Regions from separate parts of the Homo sapiens genome. Here region 2 is linked to region 1. Evidence: promoter capture Hi-C in human tissues and cell types (Jung and others, 2019). All regions are on one chromosome and are shown on one strand. The core of a region is centred on a gene start or on the middle of the fragment in contact, and the rest is flanking DNA. Distances in the headings are between cores, read along the strand shown. Region 1 holds the start of MYOF (myoferlin). Region 2 has its middle 200 kb from the start of CYP26A1.

The links. Contacts are between HindIII fragments. The study calls those that stand out against the background at their distance.
Region 2: a fragment that was not itself captured here is called in contact with the fragment with the promoter of MYOF in region 1 in 1 of the 25 tissues and cell types used here (mesendoderm cells).

The regions. Positions count from the first base shown.
Region 1 is chr10:93,478,276-93,484,678 of GRCh38, forward strand. MYOF (myoferlin) reads right to left here and starts at 4,059. Exons shown (of 54, transcript NM_013451.4): 1 at 3,832-4,059. The coding sequence starts at 3,919. The HindIII fragment of the contact is 15,058 bases long and covers 1-6,403 here.
Region 2 is chr10:93,268,588-93,274,990 of GRCh38, forward strand. No RefSeq gene overlaps it. Among named protein-coding and RNA genes, the nearest start is that of CYP26A1, 200 kb to the left of the region's middle. RefSeq lists enhancers at 3,909-4,476, 4,477-5,043, 5,044-5,610. The HindIII fragment of the contact is 7,919 bases long and covers 204-6,403 here.

The DNA.
Region 1 (6,403 bases), core at 2,809-5,308:
TTCACAGCCTGGCTGTCCGCATGGAACTTAGGGCAGAATGGCCACCCCTGGCTCACAGGCACTCACTCCAGCCTCAATTCGGATCTGGCTCATGGAACCTGGTGTACCCGAAGGATATGAAAAATTACATAAGCGTTGTGGCTTTCATAATCTACACCTGCGCTGCTGAACATCACCAACAACCATGCACCAGGACTACAGCAACCCCCAGATCCTCCTAGTTCCTACCAGGCCCTGAGTAATTTGACAGCCTCAGAAGGGTCACTCACGGTTGAACACAACTGGGCGCTCATACCTGTAATCCCAATACTTTGGGAGGCCAAGCCAGGAGGATTGCTTGAGCCCAAGAGTTCAAGGCCAGCTTGAGAAACAGAGTGAGGCCCTGTCTCTACAAAAAAAATTAAAAATTAGCTGGGCATGGTGGTGTGTGCCTATAGTTCAGCTACTCAGGAGGCTGAGGTGGGAGGATCGCTTGAGCCCAGGAGTTCGAGACCATGATCACACCACTGACTGCACTCTTCCCTCCTGGATGGCAGGGTGAAACAGTCTCAAAAAAAAAAAAAAAAAAGAAAGAAAGAAAGAAAGGGTTTGAACACGAAAAACTGAGGTCAACTGTAAACCAGTTGGTTGTCAGTACAGCACAATCCCAAGTACAGTGTAGCTATAGCCTAATAGGGCCTCACAGTGTCTATGCGAGCTTCACCATTAACAATCACTTCCCCTGGCCATTCTTCACCGTCTTATAGTTTGAGAAGAGCTGCTTACTGCCCTGACTTTGTTTATTTACCCAAGAGGCAAAATGTTTACATATTTCTGTTAACACAGGGACTTTCTTTGATGCCGCCTTGATCTTCTGGTATGGCTTTTTCCTTTTTTTTTTTTTGAGATGGAGTCTCGTTCTATCTCCCAGGCTGGAGTGCAGTGGTGCGATCTCTGCTCACTGGAACCTCCGCCTCCCAGGCTCAAGTGATTCTCCTGCCTCAGCCTCCTGAGTAGCTGGGACTACAGGCATGGTAGGGCTTTTTCCAGTTTACCATACCCTGCCCCACTCCACACTATGAAGTGTGTCTGCCTTTGTTCCATGTTCCCTCTGATGGACAGTATTTTGCTATAAGTATCCTCAGTTCAGTCAGAACTTAATGTTACTTAATTTTACGCAGTGCTCAAAATTGGGAACACACCTGTAAAGGGTTTGCCATCACCAGGATTTTAAACCACCGACATAGACTGAAAGCAAGAAGAGTGCTGTGTTTGTTGCTATATCCCCTCCAGCACCTAAGGCAATGCATTTCACATCTTGCTGAGAGCAGCTAACTCAATACCTGGAACTAGAAAATTAGAATCTAAAAGACGGAAGGCATCTAAAGACCAGTTCCCATCATGCCACAGCTGAGAAATTGGAGACCCAGGTGGTTAAATCAGATATTGAGTTAATGTCAGCTGGAATGCAGATGTTCCTACTCTGAGTTGAGTGCCCTTTCCTCTGTCAGGTTGCTTGTTAGCTAAATGAATGAATGACTTTACCACTCGATTTGTATGAAAAAAGGAGGCCAGAAAAGAGACTAAAGTTAAATGTGTAATTGTTTGTATAGACTATATTTGCCAACTTAACTGAAGTTTTCCACTTTCAATTGATTGTTTGCATTCATTGACTTAGATATATTTTTCATCATTTAAAATGTTTCATCAATGCATACAAACTCCAGACAAATAACAAGTCAGATTTCAATATAGTATTAACTCCAATTCCTCTATAATCTATAATACTTAAATAATTACATGATCGGACTGATCCAAATATATTTTAATGTCTTTATATGTCAATGATGAAGGATGTAAAATCTTCATATTATGTCTCTATTATGTAACTGCTTCAAGAAAACAAAAAATTAATAAAACCTAACACATGTAAATAAACTCTGACATAACGTGAGTCCATGATATTCACTAGCCAGATTTTCAAACCTCATTGTCCTTTAAGAGCCCAATTTTAAGCTGGGCGTGGTAGTTTACGCCTGTAATCCCAACACTTTGGGAAGCTGAGATGGGAAGAAAGTTTGAGCAAGGGAATTATAACCAGCCTGGGCAACATAGCAAGACCCAGTCTTATTCAAAAAAATTTTTTTAAATTTTTTTTAAATCCAATTTTTGCCCTTTAGATTTTTTTTTTAACCAACCAACAATTTGCCAGCTTTTTTTTTTTTTTTTTTTTTTTTTTGAGACGGAGTCTCACTCTGTTGCCCAGGTTGGAGTGCAGTAGCATGATCTCGGCTCACTGCAACCTCCTCCTCCTGGGTTGAAGCAATCCTCCTGCCTCAGCCTCCCGAGTAGCTGGGATTATAGGCATGTGCCACCATGCCCGGCTAATTTTTGTATTTTTAGTAGAGATGGGGTTTTGCCATGTTGGCCTGGCTGGTCTCGAACTCCTGCCCTCATGTGATCCACCCACCTCAGCCTCCCAAAGTTCTGGGATTACAGGCAGAAGTCACCACACCCAGCCAGCCAGCTTTGAGTTTCATTTCTTTCATTTTCTTGCTCATCCTCAGAGAGAGAGGTTTAAGAAGAGAAATAAAGGGGAAAAACGGGAAACAGAAAGGCGAAAGGTATAGATGCCTCAGGAACTGACAGGGAGTAGCAGTCAGGCTCCTGGAAGAAACGAGAAATGTAGCAAGGCATGGTCAGGAAACACATGTCTATCCATGCTCCCACTCTCTCTGCCTTTCCCTCTCTTTCCCATCCCTCTTGCCAAGAAGTGAGTTGGCAGTCTTACCAATGACAAACAAAATAGATAAAGCCTCCACACTGAGATTTAGAAACCCCACTTTAGCCAAAACTAAGTCACTTACATCAAATTGTACCATGACACCAAGCATTCCTGTCCCCTCCCCTGCAATGGCAATCAAGTGTCATAGAAAAATAGCCTTTTAAAATTACCATGAGCCTTTTATTTTTATTTATTTTTACACCCAGGCTGGAGTGCAGTGGCGTGATCACGGCTCACTGTAGCCTCAAACTCCTGGGCTCAAGCAATCCTCCTGCCTTGGCCTCCCAAAGTTGGCTCAGGGTTGAGGAGCCACTGTGCTCAGCCAACCATGAGGTTTTTAGAGATGATCTTGTCTAAACCCTTCTCGCCTGTTTTGCAGAAAAGAAAATTGAGATCCCAGAGAAATGAAGTAACTTGCCCAAGGTCATTCAGCAGGCAAGATAGAACTAGATCCCCAAATTGCAAACTAGCTGTCCAGAGTTCTTTCCTCAATGAGCAATTTAAAAGCTACAGAATGTACAAAAAAAGCTCCCCAACAGTTTAGATATAAAAACAATTACAAAGGCACAAAAGGGCAGGAAAACTCAATAAAACTATGAACTTCACCCATCCCACCTCCCAGAAACCCAGTGACAATCAAAGCAGCGTCAGGCTGGTTCAAGGAGTAATGGTGTCTCCAACAATTTAATTGCTCTTCTTCCTCCTTTACCCATTTCTCACAGGCAGAGAAAAAATGCATCTAAGACTACTGAAACTTACTTTGAACCAATACAGATGTTTGTTGATACCTGAAATTTAGTGATTCGCAAATACGTTTTCTGCCAAGAGCTTACAGAAATCACACTCTTAGAGCTAAAACATCAGGTCATTCCATGAGTCTCAAGCCCTGGAGAAAATTAAATGCCTTCCCCAGAAACGGGTCCTCTCCCCTGTCCTGCGCAGGTAACAAACGCTGCTGGAGAGACTTGGCTTCATCAGCTGTCTAAATGCAGACTTTTCAAGAAGGTGACTCAAGAAACTAACATTCCAAAACAGGACTTCAGAAAAAGAAGAAAACTTTTTCTTACCCTTAAAAATGACAGAAACAATAGGATCCGGCTTGCCAAATTTCGTTTTAGGGATATTGCTGGCAGATTCCACAATCACTCGCAGCATGGTTCTTAGCTGGTAGAAAGCAAGTTTCAGCAAACGAAGTGGAGACTAGGGCGCTGGAGCTCCGGGTCGCACCGCCCTGGGAGAGAAGTTCTCTCCCAGTGAAGGGAGGATTTCTCCCAGGGCAAGGAAGGGGAAAAGGCAAAATGGGTGGACCTCTGGCGGATTTTACTGAAGGCAACGTGTAAACTGATACCGAACTCCCCGCGTCTACGCAGTGCCGCAGGCACAGACTTATGAATTCGGGAAATGTGGAAGTGAAAAGGACAAACCCTAAACTAAAAATAATTCCGTGCGACAAATGAAACCAACATGAATTTGGAGCTAAGAAATACGGGTAGGTCAGGAAACCACTAAAATGTTGCTGCCTTTTAGCAATGGTTCGTGAAACTGAATTAATTGATTTTTCCGTCACTGCTTTCATTCTTTTCTGAGTTTCAAGGAGTTTTAAAACTTTAGTCATTATTTGCTTTTGACTTTTCGCTGTTACTTCTCACGCCATTGAACACACCCACTCAGTAACCCTATGTTCAGCTTTTTTAAAGCAGCTAAAGGGTGCCTCTTACTGGACGGCAAACGAATGACAGCGTTTATTTCAAGTAAACGCGATCCAGGCATGGGATATATAAATAATTACATATATGTATAAATAATTATATATATATATATATATATATATATATATATATATATATATATATATATATATATATAAAGGACTGAACATAGAATTTCTTCAAAACCCCTTCAGAGGTGAGAGCTGGGCGCCTAAGTTTTCCCGGCTCTTCAAATGCTGCCAATTGCCTTCAGTGAAAATGGAGAAGTGACTCCCCACTGTTTCTGGACCTACAGCTGCCCATGGTGTCTTTCTGTCCCAGAGGGTGCATGAAGACAGTGCAGCTTGGCTGAGATCACAAGAGGCGGCCTGGGGTTAGTCAGCCAGATCTGAGTGTGAGACTCTGCCTCACCACCCTGAGCTACGTCATCTTAGCAAGTTTCTTTTCTTTTCTTTTCTTTTCTTTTTTTTTTTTGACGGAGTCTCGCTCTGTCACCAGGCTGGAGTGCAGTGTAGCGATCTTGGCTCACTGCAACCTCTGCCTCCCGGGTTCAAGCGATTCTCCTGCCTCAGTCTCCCGAGTAGCTGGGACTACAGGCGTGCGCCACCACACGCAGCTAATTTTTTTTTTTTTTGTATTTTTAGTAGAGACGGGGTTTCACCATGCTGGCAAGGATGGTCTCGATCTCTTGACCTTGTGATCCGCCCGCCTCGGCCTCCGTGGCTTGAGCTTTACTGGCTTGAGCTTTACTGGCTTGAGCCACCGTGCTGGCGAGCAAGTTTCTTAACCCCTCTCTTCCTCAGTTTCCTCATCTATGAACTGGGGATAAAGGCTGTTATAAGATAAAGGTCATAGCATAGGAGCTGGCACAAAGCACACAGTAATTTGCACATGTAAGAAGTTCATGCTTATTTGTGGTCTCACAGCGTTTCTGTTAGTGCAGGCTGACTTTAAATCAGGATCTCGTTATATTTCAGAAGAAAAGGCTAAAACTTGGGATGAAGAAACATTGGGCTTCTTTTTGCTTTAGAACACACATCAAGCAGACCCACCTGTAAATAAACATTTCAAGTACATTGAATAAGCATGACTTAACCTACAAGAATTCTTCTGTCTCCACGAGTTTCTCCAAGGCTTAAAGCAAAGAACCAATTACCCAGTGCTGTGTTCATTATTGTATTTAGTGGACATGTTGGCAGTTTTAGTGGAATATAGAGATTATTACTTTTATTTTATCTGGCTGCTTTCTATTTGCCATTTTTACTGTGAAATATATTTACAGAAAAATGCATACTACATAAACGTGACAGTTTAACAAGCATCCAGGTCAAGACAGAACATTGCCAGTCCTCCAGAAGCCCCTGGAATACCCCATATATCATATCCACCTCCTTCTCCCAGAGGTAACCACTCTCCTGATTTTTTTTTCTTTTTTTAGATGGAGTTTCACTCTTGTTGCCCAGGCTGGATTGAAGTGGGGTGATCGGCTCACTGCCACCTCCACCTCCCGGGTTCAAGCAATTCTCCTGCCTCAGCCTCCCAGGTAGCTGGGATTACAGGCGTGCACTACCACACCCGGCTAATTTTGTATTTTTAGTAGAGACAGGGTTTCACCGTGTTGGCCAGGCTGGTCTCAAACTCCTGACCTCAGGTGATCCATCCACCTCGGCCTCCCAAAGTGCTGGGATTACAGGCATGAGCCACCATGCCTGGCCCACTCTCCTGATTTTTATGGTAATGATTTCCTTGCTTTTCTTTGTAGTTTTTACCGAAAACAACAACAACAAAACAGTTTAGGTTTGCTTGCTCATGACCTTTGTTTGGTGATATAAATTCTTTTGTATGTTATGAACTTTACATACAACACATATATTCATATATATAGGTACACACATACATGTGTTCATACTTTGTGAATTCTTTGCTGTAT
Region 2 (6,403 bases), core at 2,913-5,412, 210 kb before region 1:
GCAGGCACAGGGAGCTGGTATCTCCCTCCCCATCCTTTATCCCTCTGACTTTGAGCAAGACACTTGACCCATTATAACTATTTCCTTGTCTGGAAAATGGGGATAAAAACCTCCAGTTCTGTCTATCTCATAGGACTGCAGGGAGAATTGCAGTAGTAATAGATGTGACAACCTTTGCAAACATCACATACAACTATGTAAGCCTGAGGGCAAGGGATGAGTTATGGTTATGTGAATTATGGTTACCTGTGGAGGGTGTCCAGGTTCTTGGTGTCTTGAACAAAGAATTGGACAAAACACACAAAGCAAGGAAAGAACAAAGCAACAAAAGCAGAGATTTATTGAAAATGAAAGTAAACTCCACAGTATGGGAGTGGGCCTGAGCATAGGGGCTCAAGAGCCCTGTTACAGAATTTTCTGGGGATTAAATACCCTCTAGAGGTTTCCACTGGTTACTTGGTGTAAGCCCTATGTAAGTGAAGAGGATGAAATAAAGTTACAAAGTCATTTACTCAGTGTATGCCCTATGTAAATGGAGAGGATATATGTTTCTATTTGATTTAGTTCTAGGAAGTCAGCATGAATCAGCCTTATGTTCCCTGCCTCCAGACCCTATTCTTCTGCCTCAGTTAAGCATGAGGAGCAGAAGCCAGCTCTACAAAGAGATGAGATCAAAAGTTTAGTAGATTGAACTCCAATAGGTCTTGACGATGATCCTTACATACGTATTTCCAAAACATATCTCTCTTTCTTGTTTCAAGATGACTGCAAACTACTGGGTCTTAGAAATGACTGGAGAATTTTGTTTCTGTGTGTCATTTGAAAGCATTTTTATGCCTTAAGATTGTGGCCAACACAAGGAATGTAACAGGAGTAAAAATCAAGAGAAACAACAGATAACAGAAACAAACCCACACCTACTTCTGGAAGTGGAATTATCAGGGACATATTGTAAATAAGCTTTTTATTATGTAAATTACAAACTTGAACATATTTGAAGGAAAAATAGGCTCTAAAAAATCTAGCAGATATGGAAAAGAACCAAATAGAACTTCCAGAAATAGAACACATAGGAACCGAAATTAAACACACTGGAGTTTCATAGAAAAGTTTAAGGGACTGCCCTAGTTGGGAGAAGATGAGAGGCAAGGCCTTCAATGGAAAGGAACATTAGGCTTCGTATAATTGGAATTGTGGGTGATGAGTGGGAGGAAAAGAAATAAAAAAAGCTGTAGAAATTGGACCTCTAAGAGCTTTAGGAATCTCAAAGATGTCAACTATTTTGATAACCATAGTAGCCTTAGCATCAGCACTAGGGCCATTTCCTCTTGCACCAGACACCAGAACTTTTTGGAGAAAAGTGATGGAAGAGGGAGGCACCACCAGCTCTTACTGTCATTTAGAAGTAGCACCCTGTCTATAAATTCCAACTGCAACCCGGAACAAGAAAGAATAATTGGCAAACTCAGGAATTATTCTTGAAAATCAGCTCTAATTAAATGAAGACTACTTGTATTTTCTAATTTCATAGTTTAAAAATTGAAGCCCGGAATTCAGGTTTATGAAATTTTTTTCAGGAAGTGAGGCTTCTTATCAAAGTGAAAGTTTACAGGAATGAATAGAAGTAGACATCTGTGAACCTCAAATATCTGAGACAGGTCTCAGTCAATTTAAAAGTTTATTTTGGCAAGGTTAAGGACACGCCCATGACACAGCCTCAACGTGTAAAATGTACACTAGTTCTGTCCTCCAGTAAGGTGGGACAACTTGAAGTGGGGGCTTCAAGGTTAGAAGTAGATTAGAGACAAAAGGTTACATTCTTTTACGTCTTTGATCAGCCTTCCACTGAATATACAATTGAGTCTGCCTCAGTGAATCTGCATTTTTACATAAGCAATAGGGGAGAGGAAGCAATTATATATGCATTATCTCAGGTGAGCCTCCCAGGGATGACTTTGAATAGAATGGGAGGCAAGTTTGCCTTAACCAGTTCCCAGCTTGACTTTCCCCTTTTGCTTAGTGATTTGGGGGTCCCAAGATTTATTTTCCTTTCACACATCAAAGTCCCAGAATCATAAAACTTGGCACTTGGGAAAAAAAAAAAAAAAACACAGAGTGACTGTAGTGCAATCCCTTCACTTACAGAAGAGGGAACTAAGATCTAGAGAAAATGTGGCAGCCCCAGATCACAGGGAACCTCCTAACTTCTAATTTGATACTAAAGCAATACAACCAACCAAAGCAGTCTCCCTTGGGTCAGTTTTATAAAAACAAACAAATAAATAAATAAAGTAAATGTTGTGGATGAGACTGTGAACAGCAGATCATCTGGTGAATGGTTGAGACAATCAAAATGTAAAGAGATGAGGGCTGGTTTCAGTAGAGGGAGGTGAGCCTGCCAGGAAAGGCTTGGAGATGAGCTTTGAAGCACTCCCTAAACACAGTGTCCACAGACACAATGTGACGATGAAAAAAGGCGCTGTGAGGTGGGAGCGTATGCAGACCAGCTTGTGGCTTGGTGGATACATTTATTCGACAAGCATTTACTGAAGGCTGTTAAGGGGTTGGCACAGCACAGGCACACTGGATACGGCCCCTGATCTCATGGAGCTTACAGTCCAGTGGGCTGGGGAGGTGAAGGAGGGAGATGGGACAGTCAATAGGACTTCAAATATCAAGCTGTTGAAGAATTTTTGAAATGTTCTGGGGAGGAGCAGAACATCAGCAAAAGGGTTGGGAGAATAGTCAGGGCAGTGACCTGTCTTGCAAGCAGGGTCCTCAGGAAGTGGGAACCATCAGTGCTGTAGTGTCAGGGATGGATGAATCCCAGAGGCTCTGCACCTGCCTCCCAGTCCATGCTTCATTGCAAGGTTGCAGTTAAGACTGAAGGTCATGGATGCACCAGCACCAAGCTCCAGATTAGTGCTCACTTAATAATGGCTATCATTACCATGACTGTGGGAACTTCCTGCCTCTCAGGGCCTTTTTATACCAAGTTATTCTTCCAGGAAACAGACCAAATGGGAAACAACAGGTACTTCAAAGGGCTGGAATTGTGGGTGCTTTGTGTTTTTTTTCTTTATACTTATGTATGTTTTCCAAGTTTTTCTACCTTAAATATGCACTACTTTTAGAATCAGAAAAAAAGAATTATAACAACTTTTTTTTTTTTTTTTTTGAGACAGTCTTACTCTGTTGCCCAGGCTGGAGTGCAATGGCACGATCTCAGCTCACTTCAACCTCCGCCTCCCAGGTTCAAGCGATTCTCCTGCCTCAGCCTCCCAAGTAGCTGGGATTACAGGCGTATGCCACCACACCTGGCTAATTTTTTATATTTTTAGTAGAGACAAGGTTTCACCATGTTGGCCGGCCTGGCCTCAAACACCTGACCTCAGGTGATCCACCTGCCTTGGCCTCCCAAACTGCTGGGATTACAGGCCGAGTCACCTAAAACAGCTTTTTATAAGGTATCTACTTAAACTACTGATATTAACCATGGGTATCAAATGTACTGATATAAAAAGATATCCACAATATATATTACTGAGTGGGGGAAAAGAGCAAAGGAGCTATGGGGCAAAGCATGTACTGCAGTTGCATTATTGTAAACAACCCTATGTGTGTGTATTTGTATATATAAAAAGTTCTGGGCCAGGCGCGGTGGCTCACACCTGTAATCCCAGCACTTTGGGAGGCCAAGGCGCGTGGATTACCTGATGTCAGGAGTTCGAGGCCAGGCTGGCCAACATGGTGAACCCCCATCTCTACTAAAAAAAAAATACATAAATTAGCTGGGCGTGGTGATGCATGCCTGTAGTCCCAGCTACTTGGGAGGCTGAGGCTGGAGAATCACTTGAACCCGGGAGGCGGAGGTTGCAGTGAGCCGAGATCGTGCCACTGCCTCTAGCCTGGGTGATAGAGCAAGACTCCTGTCTCAATTTAAAAAAAAAAAAAAAAAAGTAAGTTCTGGAAGAACCTAAACTCTGGGGGCAGGGTGGAGTTTTACTTTTCATACTCTTCCATAATGTTTGAACATTTGCAACAAACGTGTTGCTCTTGCAATTTTTCAGCCAAAAATACAGATATTAGGTATCACTTACGGATTTATTGTGTGCTGGGTACTTACTAAGCACATTCCTTCCCATTCCTAGTGGCTTCTACTCTTTTCCTGTTCTGGGGCCACAGGGAACAAGACTCGTCTACTAGGTGGACCCTCTCTCAGGACCCCTGGATCTTCCTTTCAGGGTCTGCACCTCCTCCAGGAGGGATCAGGATTTGAAGCAAGAGATGCCAGGAGGTTATTTTTCTGTCTCCTCTGTGTCCCTGTCCAGCTTTCTTGCCGGGAGACATGTTTGAGATGGAGATAGTGACAGGGAAGGGAGCTTCAGGGGCCATGGCACGTCCTGTCCAGAGCGAGTAGGGAACTGGAATGGGAGAGGATTAGGGAGGCGCCCTCCCTTCCACCCGGGGCACTCACCTCTGGCCAGCAGTCCCACCAGGCTTGCTTCCTCTCACCCTGCCCAGCCCAGGAAGGAGGAGGTGGAAATAATTAACACCTACATGGAAACTTTCACACAGGTTGTGAACTCCTCCAGAAATTTGCATTTTAAACCCTTGGTGGCTAATTGGGAATGCAAGGCTTTGTCTGGCCTGAAAAGAAGGGCAGGCAATGGAAATCAGGTGGAGAGAGGAGGGGGTCTTCTTTGTGCTGGTGTGTGTGTGTGTGTTGGGGGTGCAGACATTCTACTTCCAAGCCTGGTGCAGATAAAAAAGCTGAGTTGAGGGGATGGGGGTGGCACCAAGAACATATGACTTCCTCCCCACTCTCCACAAGGTTTCTGGACATGAACTCCATTTCCAAGTCACCAGCCTGCCTGTAACCTGGGGCTGGCGCCCCGGCCCAGATAGCTGGCCTATGTGTGCAGAAACAGGTCTGAGCCTGCTTTGAGGGGCAGGGGACTCCAGAGAGGAGTGACCCAGCTTGAGCTGGAGAACTCTTCAATTATTAATTAATTTTTTTTTTTGAGACGGAGTCTAGCTCTGTCACTCAGCCTGGAGTACAGTGTTGTGATCTCAGCTCACTGCAACCTCTGCCTCCCAGGTTCAAGCGATTCTCCTGCCTCAGCCTCCCGAGTAGCTGGGATTACAGGCATGTGCCACCATGCCCAGCTAATTTTTGTATTTTAGTAGAGGCAGGGTTTCACTATGTTGGTCAGGCTGGTCTCAAACTGCTGACCTCAAGTGATCCGCCTGCCTCGGCCTCCCAAAGTGCTGGGATTACAGGTGTGAGCCACCACGCCTGGCCTAATTAATTTTTAAATAAGTAAAATGTGCATGAAAAATTCCAAAGGTTCAGAAGTGAAAACCAAGTTTCCCTTTGAACCCTAGTTCCCATGTTCTCTCTATATGTAAAAATACACATATGTATAAATATGTATGTATGTATATGTGTGTATTTACATTTGGGCAGTCTATACAACACAACACACTCTTTTCTTTTGAAATGGAGTCTCGCTCTGTCACCCAGGCTAGAGTGCAATGGCACGATCTTGGCTCATTGCAACTTCCACCCCCTGCATTTAAGCGATTCTCCTGCCTCAGCCCCCCAAGTAACTGGGATCACAGGTGCACATCAACATGCCCAGCTAATTTTTGTATTTTTAGTAGAGATGGGGTTTCGCCACATTGGCCAGGCTGGTCTTGGACTCCTGACCTCAAGTGATCTGCCTGCCTCAGCCCCCCAAATTACTGGGATTACAGGCATGAGCCGCTGTGCCCAGCCACAACACACTCTTAATTATCTTGCTTTTTTCCACAAAGCAATGCTTTTCAGGCCTGCTACTTATAAGATCTTGTTAATGTGATTAATTTCCCTGTGTTCAATCTTCTCATCTGTAAAATGGGAGATAATACAAATATTTCCCTCATAGGGCTGCTGTGAGAATTAAATGAGTTAACTCATGTAAAATCATTATGTCAGAGGCCAGAGTGACTCCATCTTGAATAGGGGCTAGGTAAGATAAGATGAGACCTGCTGGGCTCCATTCCCAGGAGGTCAGTCATTCTTAGTCACAGGATGAGACAGGAGGTCAGCAAGACTGGTATCACAAGTTATGGGTCGTAAAGACCCTGCTGATAAGATAGGATGCAGTAAAGAAACTGGCCAAACACACCAAAACCGAGATGGTGACCTCTGGTCGTCCTCACTGCTCATTACACGTGAATTATAACACATTAGCATGCTAAAAGATACTCCCACCAGTGCCATGACAGTTTACAAATGCATGGCAATTTGTAGTGAAAGTCACCCAATATGGTCTAAACGGGGAGAAACTCTCAGTTCCTGGGGAAATCCCTGCCCTTTTCTCATAAAACTCATGGATAATCCACCCCTTGTTTAGCA